Regions from separate parts of the Homo sapiens genome. Here all the other regions are linked to region 1. The links are contacts of gene promoters, found by promoter capture Hi-C in human tissues and cell types (Jung and others, 2019). All regions are on one chromosome and are shown on one strand. Each heading gives the region's core, a stretch centred on a gene start or on the middle of the fragment in contact. The rest is flanking DNA. Distances are from core to core; before and after follow the strand shown.

The links. The method cuts DNA at HindIII sites, captures the fragments that hold promoters and counts their contacts. A contact is called where the count stands out against the background at its distance.
Region 2: a fragment that was not itself captured here is called in contact with the fragment with the promoter of LRIG2 in region 1 in 1 of the 25 tissues and cell types used here (hippocampus).
Region 3: a fragment that was not itself captured here is called in contact with the fragment with the promoter of LRIG2 in region 1 in 2 of the 25 tissues and cell types used here (H1 embryonic stem cells and thymus).

Annotation. Positions count from the first base shown.
Region 1 is chr1:113,071,718-113,074,966 of GRCh38, reverse strand. LRIG2 (leucine rich repeats and immunoglobulin like domains 2) reads right to left here and starts at 1,769. Exons shown (of 18, transcript NM_014813.3): 1 at 1,322-1,769. The coding sequence starts at 1,560. It overlaps LRIG2-DT (LRIG2 divergent transcript), which reads left to right and starts at 1,865. Exons shown (of 3, transcript NR_103777.1): 1 at 1,865-2,028. RefSeq lists enhancers at 600-649, 1,249-1,308, 925-1,456, 1,489-1,798, 1,457-1,990 and 1 more. The HindIII fragment of the contact is 29,814 bases long and covers 1-3,249 here.
Region 2 is chr1:113,551,493-113,554,741 of GRCh38, reverse strand. The region is part of intron 2 of MAGI3 (membrane associated guanylate kinase, WW and PDZ domain containing 3); the gene reads right to left. Among named protein-coding and RNA genes, the nearest start is that of MAGI3, 160 kb to the right of the region's middle. The HindIII fragment of the contact is 6,323 bases long and covers 1-3,249 here.
Region 3 is chr1:112,784,220-112,787,468 of GRCh38, reverse strand. No RefSeq gene overlaps it. Among named protein-coding and RNA genes, the nearest start is that of NUTF2P4, 38 kb to the right of the region's middle. The HindIII fragment of the contact is 8,522 bases long and covers 1-3,249 here.

The DNA.
Region 1 (3,249 bases), core at 520-3,019:
GGATTACAAGCGTGAGCCACCGCACCCGGCCCCTCTTCCTCCCCGACCCTCCCTCCCCCCAGACGGAGTCTCGCTCTGTTTTCAGGCTGGAGTGCAGTGGCGTGATCTCAGCTCACTGCAACCTCCACCTCCCGGGTTCAAGCGATTCTCCTGCCTCAGCCTCCCGAGTAGCTGGGACTACAGGCGCACACCACCACACCCAGCTAATTTTTTTGTATTTTTAGTAGAGACGGGGTTTCACCATGTTGGCCAGGATGGTCTCGATCTCTTGACCTCGTGATCGGCCCGCCTCGGCCTCCCAAAGTGCTGGGATTACAGGCGTGAGCCACCGCGCCTGGCCCATTGATGACTCTTTCTTAACGACTCCATCAGAAATCTGTCAGTTAATAAACGTGCTGCTCAGTTAGTGACGAGAAATAACTGTATGTTAGTGGTTAAGAAGCCCCATAATTGCAGCATTTAATACCTGCTGTTGTTCCTAATACCACCAGGCTGACTCAGACTAAGGAGCCCTCCAAGTTCCACTGTCTAATAAAGACCTGTCAAAGTGAAAACTCAACAGTGGAAACTCCAGAATTCATTCAACCGTTGTACCTGCTTTACCTACATAAATAAGCAGAACTGATTTTTGGGTTCTTTGCCACAAGAAGATGCGCTGAAAACAAAGCATCAAATGGTTCTGCAAAAAATACTCCTCCTCTTTACAGTGAAGTTTAAATTAGATCAAGAATGCTACTTACAAAGATATTCTGAATTACAGGATCTCCTGATTCATCATAATGAACTTTTCAACCCTGTTAAGTATCAAAACTGCAGCACAAAATCAGCCAACATGCGAACTAAGGACTAAAGACAGTTCATAGGTCTTTGGCGATTGTGATTATAAAATCACGTGCCTGAGGACCACTAAGTCTGAGGTACACACCAAATCATGCAGCTCAAGATAAGCAGAAAGCACTGTTCCGTGCTCAACCCACCCCCCGCCCCACCAACCATCCAAAGTCAATGCTGGTGCCCAGGACCCGTGAGTCCTTACCATTAAATATGCCCGCCCCATTTCCTCCCCAGTTGAGGAAATCACAGACTCCTTGGCCCCAAGAATCTTAACCCTCGTCTTCATACAATTCTCCAGAAACCTTAACACCGGCTTTTTTAGGCTCCCACCACCTAAAACAAAGTTCATAAAATCCTGACGGCAGTTTCCTTCAGAGCTTAGGCTCTCGACCACACCCTCCGACCAGGCCTGTCTCCCTCCTGCCTGCCCCCTGTAGAGGGAAGGCTCCCCCTCCTTTTGGTCACTCTGCCTGGCCGCTCTACTCACAGGATAGCGGTGTCGGGGGGCAGCAAGCCCGACAGCGCCCTCCAGCTCGGTGCGGGCAATTTCCTGCGACTGCAGTCCAGGAGAGGAATGCGGCAGGAGCAGGGCGCGGGGCAGAGACCTGCTCCGGCGGCGGGCAACAGGAGGAGAGCGGTCTGGGCAATGAAGAGTAACCGAGAAAGCACTCTAGATCGACACCCCAGCAACTGCTCCTCCGGGACGCCTAGGGGCGCCGGCGCCATTTTCCCCCTCGACCTGGACGTGGCCTAGAAGAGCTGCCTGCTAGAAAAGGAGGATCGGCGGAGAAGCTCAGCAGAGATGCTCGGTGGCTGCACTGTCTCCCGAAGCCCCGGCTGAAGGCTGTACCATCTAAAGGCATGCAAGGAGCAGACGCAGCGCGACAGCGGGGTCGACGGCCTGGGACACACGGCCTGACGGACACCTCTCGTCCGCCCCTCCCCACGGCGCAACGTCCTCACGCACAGGGGCCAGCCAATCGGTGCCATAAGATGAGGTTGCGCCCGGGGCGGAACTCAGTGAGGGGCGGGGCCAGACGCAGCCGAGTATCTTGAGGAGAAGGACTTTAAAGCGTTCAGGGATTTTAGCTGCCGCTGTGGAGTTCCGCCGCTGTTCTTCCGCTGGAGGGCGCAGTAGTTCCTTAAGAGGGAATGGTGCGGCGAATAGCTGTGAGTTCAAAGTCCTGACTACAGGTATATCTACTGTAGTAGAAAAGGATCTTTTATTTGCTCTGGGCTTTAAGAAAGGGGAGTGGCAGAAGGGCTGCCTTCCAAGTCGCACACACGAATGGGTCACGGGAGCTTCTATCCTGGCTTTGGCCAGATCGGCCTCCAGAGCCGAGCTCGAGCCTCTTCTGCCCCCTGCTGCTTGGCTGTAGCCCCTGCTCTTCTGCAAGTAGGCGGCAACTGCCATTTGCATAAGATCAATATCACTCTCTGTTAATGGCCTTGTAAGCTCCTGAAGGCAGAGGCCCTGTTTCTTCATCGGTGCACCTCCACCTTTTGTTCTAGCTTGGAGTTCAATAAATTTTGGTGGGACTGCACCTGCATGTCTATATAAAGGAAATACCCTTCTCTTTGGAGGGATGCTGTCAAGGTCACTCTCAGAAAAGCAAGCGAGACAAGAGGGTGTTGAGCAGTCAACAAAGCAAAGACTGGATGTGAGGAAATTTATTTCTCCTAAAGCAGAGGCTATGGAAAACTTACTAGGAACAGTGAAGTCTGGCCATCTTATGCTCATTCAGCCATCCAAGGTTGTAAATAAGACTTTGAGAATAATAGTGATGGTTCACTTATACGTAGTGAACTTTTCAAAGGGCGTTTGCATCTGTTATCTTGTTTGCTCCTTCAGTGACTGTGACATTGGCAAGACAATTATTGCTGATGATGCAACAAGCCCCAAGAGGTTAAACCAAGTTACTCTTGAGGCAGGGGCAGGTTCGACATTAACATGGGTTTTCTGACATAAATTGAAAATCTGAGCAGGTTAAAAAGAATGATAATGCCTAGGTTAGGGTTCTCATAGAAAGTAACTGAAAGCAATCTTTCCCATGGCAGATTATGGAGTCATAATTATGTTTTTAAAAACCTTTTTCTGTTTTTTTTTTTTAATATTGAAGTATATATTGGAAACAAGGCCATATCCAATGCTACAGTCCAAACCAAACTTTTAAAGCCAAGACAGCGGAATGAAACTTACTCTTAGCCTTCTTCCCTTAGCTGTTGAGCAGACTTAACAAACTCTGGTAAGAAATCCGGCATAGGCAGGAACCTTACAAAAAAAAAAAGGAGGCAGTTTAGTTCCTTTCTACATTATAGTTTCAGAGCTTTCCTATGAAACTATACCAAATGGGGCCATTAGAAATTAATGCTCTCTAACCTGTATCCTCCGCAGTAAGTGGCTCACTGCAATCT
Region 2 (3,249 bases), core at 371-2,870, 480 kb before region 1:
TCTGTGCACTTATTATTTTCATCAAATTTGGAAACATTTCAGTCACTATTTCTTTTTTTTCTCCTTCCTCCACTTTGGCTTGATAGTTTGTCATGGGTAAATATAAATGCATCATAGTCCTGTTCTGCCTGTATTTCAATGTCTGAAAACAGCTGTTACATATTCCTCGTCCAATTTCCAGTTCTTTATTACAAAAGGGTAAATCTAGTACTAGTTATGGTACTGGTACTTCATTGCAGAAGTAGAAATCTCTCCCCTCCCCATTGTCATCTGGTTGCTCAAAAAAAAAAAAGTTCACTTTTTCAGTCATTTTCTTCTCTATGCTTCAGTTTCATTAGTTTATATTGCTACGTGTTCAGGTTCACTGATCTTTTCTTCTCCAGTTTTGAATCTCCTGTTGAGTCCATTCAGTGAATTTTTAAGGTTCCACTTCATTCATACACACACACACACACACATATGAATATTTATATATAATTTTTCTCTTCATTATGTTGATACTGTTCTTTAAATCCTTGAGCATATTTCTAATAACTAAAACTCCTGGTATAGTAATGCCATCATGTGTCATTTCTGTTTCTTTTTTCTATCAGCTGACTTTTCTTTTGATTATGGGTCACATTTTCCTGCTTTTTGCAGGTCTAGTAATTTTTTATTAGATGCTGGACACTCTGAATATTTTGTTACACAATGTTTCCATTTTGTTGTCTTTCTATTTTTTTGTTTGTTTGTTTGAGACGTAGTCTCGCTCTGTCACCAGGCTGGAGTGCAGTGGCACGATCTCGGCTCACTGCAACCTCCACTTCCCAGGTTCAAGCAATTCTCCTGCCTCAGCCTCCCAAGTAGCTGGGACTACAGGCACCCGCCACCACGCCCAGCTAATTTTTGTATTTTTAGTAGAGATGGGGTTTCACCATGTAGGCCAGGATAGTCTCAATCTCTTAACCTCATGATCCGCCTGCCTCAGCCTCCCAAAGTGCTGGGATTACAGGCGTGAGCCACTGAGCCCAGACACTATCTTTCTTTAAAGAGTGTTGATTTACTTCTTTCCTTCTTTCTTCCTTTTTTGCTAGCAGTTAAGTTGCATGCATATTCACTTGATCCTTTGGGGTCTTGCTTAATTAAGCTTTGTTAAAGCAGGCCTAGAGGAGCTTTATCTGACTATTTTAGCCCTGCTAGTAAGGGAGGACCCTTATGGGATTCTTCCACCAAGCTGATTAGAACTCAAATGTCTCCTGGCCCCTGGGTAAGCTCTGGGAATTGTTAAACTTAAAACTCCGAGAGATTTTTTGGTTTAACCTTGAAGAGTCTGGTCCTACATATTCTCAGCTTAGTATTCAGCCACAGAGTCAAGGGGGTGCCTTTACAGATTGCTTGAGCTCTTTTTCTTCATAGCCCTCTCCTCTGTGACATTCTGTCCTGCAAATTCCAGATACCTCAGGCTTCTTGAACTCAGATTTCTGTCCCTTCAACTCAGAGTCCATTGTACTCTGCCTGGACTCTCCCTCCTTGTGCTGTGGTCCAGAAAGTGCCTCTAAGTAGAAAGTTGAGGAAATTATAGGATTCCTCTGTGTGTGGTCTCCTTTCTTCTTCTCTCAAGGATCATAGTCCTGTTCCACCTACAGCTCAATATCTGACAATAATAGAAGTGCCCTCTTTTTTCAACGTTGTTGCTCAAATTGTTTCAGATTTTTGGAGTAAGTATCAAGCACCCCTTCTAGGTGGCTTCTATGTCCTTCTGATATGTCTCTATAATGTTTTAAGCACTATATACTTTCTGATACACTTATATGCTCCAAAGCTCATCTTGTACTTTCCTTGTACCAGACCTAGAATCAGAACTATCTCCAAGGAGACCTCAAACTTTTTAGGAAAGTATGATATTTAGAGATCACATGTGACCCTTCAGTATGCTACCTGCTACTGATGTGTCATTGCGTCTAGGTTCCTAGAGGGAGCTTTGGACACTTCAATTTTTGTGTAAGTTAAGAGGGCCTGTTGAGATCTAAAAGGGCTACAGCTGCTTGGACCCTGTGAAATGAAACAAAATAAATTTTAGCTCCCTTCTAGGATAAAAACCTCACACTGAGGAAACTGCAAAACTGGAACAATAAAATTAAAAGAAAAACTTAAGTGAAAGTGGCAGAGGGCAGTATAAAAAAAAGACCTATCTTAGAAAGTACAAGTACATATTTTTATTATCTTGTTTTAACAAGGGAAGAGGAAGCTCTAGAGCTATGAAACTAAAAATGAGACATCCCATGCAGGCAAAATATCAAGTTACTTACAAAGGAATGAAAATTAGATTGCTACCAAACTCTTTAAGAGCAATGCTTTATGCCAAAAACAGTTAGATAGTTGACTAATATATTTAAGATAGTCAAGGAAAGAAAATGAGTCAAAAATTTTATATCCATCCAAACAAACATCAAAGTATAAAGGCCACAAACAAACTCCTAAGATGATCCTGTGAGCCTTTGCTGGGAAAACGAGTAAAGAAAAAGCTTTAGACAACTACAATTAGTGAAAAATAACAACATAAGGATTGGTGGTTATATTAAATATGTATTTACCCACAGAATAAAAGATAAATGATAATTATAAAGGAGGAAAGTACAGTAATGTAATGGCTATTTGCTTAGCCAATGTAGAACAACAGCCCAACTATCAAAAAAAGTAGGGTAAGAATGAGAAAAGCACAGCAAAGTGTGGGATACATTTACTGATTACCTTATATTTCGTAGGAATAAAAAGATATTACTTCAAGTCAGATGATGGGAGAGAAGGAAGGAAAAAGAAGAGATGACTAAGTAATTTTAATATTACTCATAGTAGAGACAGAAGCAAAAAAATAGGGAGGGAGGAACAAAGATTATTATATAAAGGTATCAAGGTAACCATTAAAAAAAAGATCCCTACAAACCTTCCTAAAAAGAGATCAAATAAAATGACTACACAGTGAAAAGCTTTTCATACAAAAGGCTTATATATGGTAAATATAAAAACCATGACAGAACTGAGGCTAAAGATATTGATCACATCAATAAAAATTTAAGAAGTTTCACACTGGCTACTGAGTAAAGTCTAGAACTATTTGTAAAACAGAGATTCAGAGACTTTAAGAATAACAAGATGGACAAAGACACATCAGGCAAATACAAATTGAAATAAAGGCAGAAGTTACAATCTGCAGCTACAAGGTAGATTTGTAGGAGGAAATCATAGATAAGGAGGCAGATTAAAAAAACA
Region 3 (3,249 bases), core at 378-2,877, 290 kb after region 1:
TCACTCTTGTTGCCCAGGTTGGAGTGCAATGGCATGATCTCTTAGCTCACTACAACCTCCACCTCCCTGGTTCAAGCAATTCTCCTGCCTCAGCCTCCCGAGTAACTGGGATTAGAGGCATGAGCCACCACGCCCAGCTAAATTTGTATTATTTTTTTTTTTTTTGGAGACAGAGTCTCACTGTCTCTCAGGCTGGAGTGCAGTGGTGCCATCTCTGCTCACTACGCTCACTACAAGCTCCTCCTCCCGGGTTCAGGTCATTCTCCTGCCTCAGCCTCCCGAGTAGCTGGGACTACAGGCGCCCACCACAACGCCCAGCTAATTTTTTGTATTTTTAGTAGAGATGGGGTTTCACCGTGTTAACCAGAATGGTCTCAATCTCCTGACCTTGTGATCTGCCTGCCTCGGCCTCCCAAAGTGCTGGGATTACAGGCGTGAGCCACCGTGCCGAGCTCTAATTTTGTATTTTTAGTAGAGACAGGGTTTGTCCATGTTGGTCAGGCTAGTCTTGAACTCCTGACCTCAGGTTATCTGCCCGCCTCAGCCTCCCAAAGTGCTGGGATTACAGGCATGAGCCACCAAGCCCAGCCTAAACCTCTTCTTTCTTTCTTTTCTTTTTTTTTGAAACAGAGTCTCACTCTTTTTGCCCAGGCTGGAGTGCAATGGCGCAATCTCGGCAGACTGCAACCTCCCCTTCCCGGGTTCAAGCAATTGTCCTGCCTGCCTCAGCCTCCCGAGAAGCTGAGATTACAGGTGTGCATCACCACGCCCAGCTATTTTTTTTTGTATTATTAGTAGAGGCGGGATTTCACCATGTTGGCCAGGCTAGTCTAAAACTCCTGACCTCAGGTGATCCACCCACCTCAGCCTCCCAGAGTGCTGGAATTATAGGCGTGAGCCACTGTGCCCAGCCAATTTCTTTTTTTTTTTAATGAAAAAAATATAATGATGGAACTGATAAAGAAATTTCATTATTTTGTCCTCTAAAATGTGTGTGCCTGCTCTCAGATTGTCTTTTTGTCTTGGCTGCGATTCTGCATAAAATCTCTCACTGAAGCACTCAAAAGGCTGGTCGATTTAATGTCAGGCTGGGCGTGGTGGCTCACACCTGTAATCCCAGCACTTTGGGAGGCCGAGGCGGGCGGATCACGAGGTCAGGAGATCAAGACCATCCTGGCTAACACGGTGAAATCCCGTCTCTACTAAAAATACAAAAAATTAGCCGGGCATGGTAGCGGGCGCCTGTAATCCCAGCTACTCAGGAGGCTGAGGCAGGAGAATGCCAATTTCTTTTCTTTAATAAATTACCCAGTCTTGGCTGGGCACAGTGGCTAATGCCTGTAATCCCAGCACTTTGGGAGGCCGAGGCAGGGGAAAAACCTGAGGTCAGGAGTTTGAGACCAGCCTGACCAATATGGTGAAACCCCATCTCTACTAAAAATACAAAAATTAGCCAGTTGTGGTGTTGGGTGCCTGTAGTCCCAGCTACTCAGGAGGCTGAGACCAGAGAATTGCTTGAACCCAGAAGGCAAAGGTTGCAGCGAGCCAAGATCACGCCACTGCACTCCAGCCTGGGCGACAGAGCGAGACTCTGTCTCAAAAATAAATAAATAAATAAAATTACTCAGTCTTAGGTGTTTCTTTTTTTTTCTTTTCTTTTTTCTTTCTTTCTTTCTTTCTTTCTTTCTTTTTTTTTTTGAGACAGAGTTTTGCTCTTGTTGCCCAGGCTGGAGTGCAATGGTGCAATCTCGGCTCACTGCAACCTCTGCCTCCTGAGTTCAAGCAATTCTCCTGCTTCAGCCTCCCAATTAGCTGGGATTACAGGCATGCACCACCATGCCTGGCTAATTTTGTATTTTTAGTAGAGACGGGGTTTCTCCATGTTGGTCAGGCTGGCCTCGAACTCCCGACCTGAGGTGATCCGCCTGCCTCGGCCTCCCAAAGTGCTGGGATTACAGGCGTGAGCCATCACACCTGGCCTTTTTTTTTTTTTTTTTTTGAGACAGAGTCTTGCCCTCTTGCCCAGGCTGGAGTGCAGTGGCATGATCTCTGCTCACTGCAACTTCTGCCTCCTGGGTTCAAGCAATTCTCCTGCCTCAGCCTCCCGAGTAGCTGGGAATACAGGCACGTGGCATCATGCCTGGCTAATTTTTGTATTTTTAGTAGAGACAAGGTTTCACCATGTTGGCCAGGCTGGTCTCAAACTCCTGACCTTGTGATCCGCCCGCCTCAGCCTCCCAAACTGCTGGGATTACAGGCTTAAAATAATTCCTTGCCGGGAGCAGTGGCTCATGCCTGTAATCCCAACACTTTGGGAGGCCAAGGCGGGCAGATCACGAGGTCAAGAGATCAAGACCTTCCTGGCCAACATGGTGAAAACCAGTCTCTACTAAAAATAAAAAAATTAGCTGGGCATGGTGGTGCGCACCTGTAGTCCCAGCTACTCGGGAAGCTGAGGCAGGAGAATCGCTTGAACCTGGGAGGCAGAGGTTGCAGTGAGCCAAGATCGCGCCACTGCATTCCAGCCTGGCGACAGAGTGAGACTCCAGCTCAAAAAAAAAAAAAAAAAAAAGAAAGAGAAAAGTATTTCTTTATAGCAATGTAAGAACAAACTAGGGCCAGGCACGGTTGCTCACGCTTGTAATCCCGGCACTTTGGGAGGCCGAGGTTGGTGGAGCACCTGCGGTCAGGAGTTGGAGACCAACCTGGCCAATATGGTGAAGCCTCATCTCTACTAAAAATACAAAAAAATTTAGCTGGGCATGGTGGTGGGCACCTGTAACCCCAGGTACTCAGGAGGCTGAGGCAGGAGAATTACTTGAACCTGGGATGCGGAGGTTGCAGTGACCCAAGATTGCGCCATTGCACTCCAGCCTGGGCAAAAAGAGTGAAACTCCATCTCAAAAAAAAAAAAAAACCAAAAAAAACAAAAACCAAAAAAACCCCACAAACTAACACAGAAAACTGGTACCAAGGAGTGGGGCATTGCTATAAAGATACCTGAAAATGTGGAAGCACCTTTGGAGATGGGTAATGGAAAGAGGCTGGAACAGTGTGGAAGGTCAGAAGATGGCAGGAAGATGAGGGAAACTTTGGAACTTCCTAGAGATGTGTTAAATCAAGCTTCTCCGACCAGCAGCCCATGGGCCACACGCAAACCAGAATGGCTTTGAATGCAGCCCAGCACAAATTCATAATCTTTCTTAAAACATTATGAAATGTTGGCTGGGCGCAGTGGCTCACACCTTA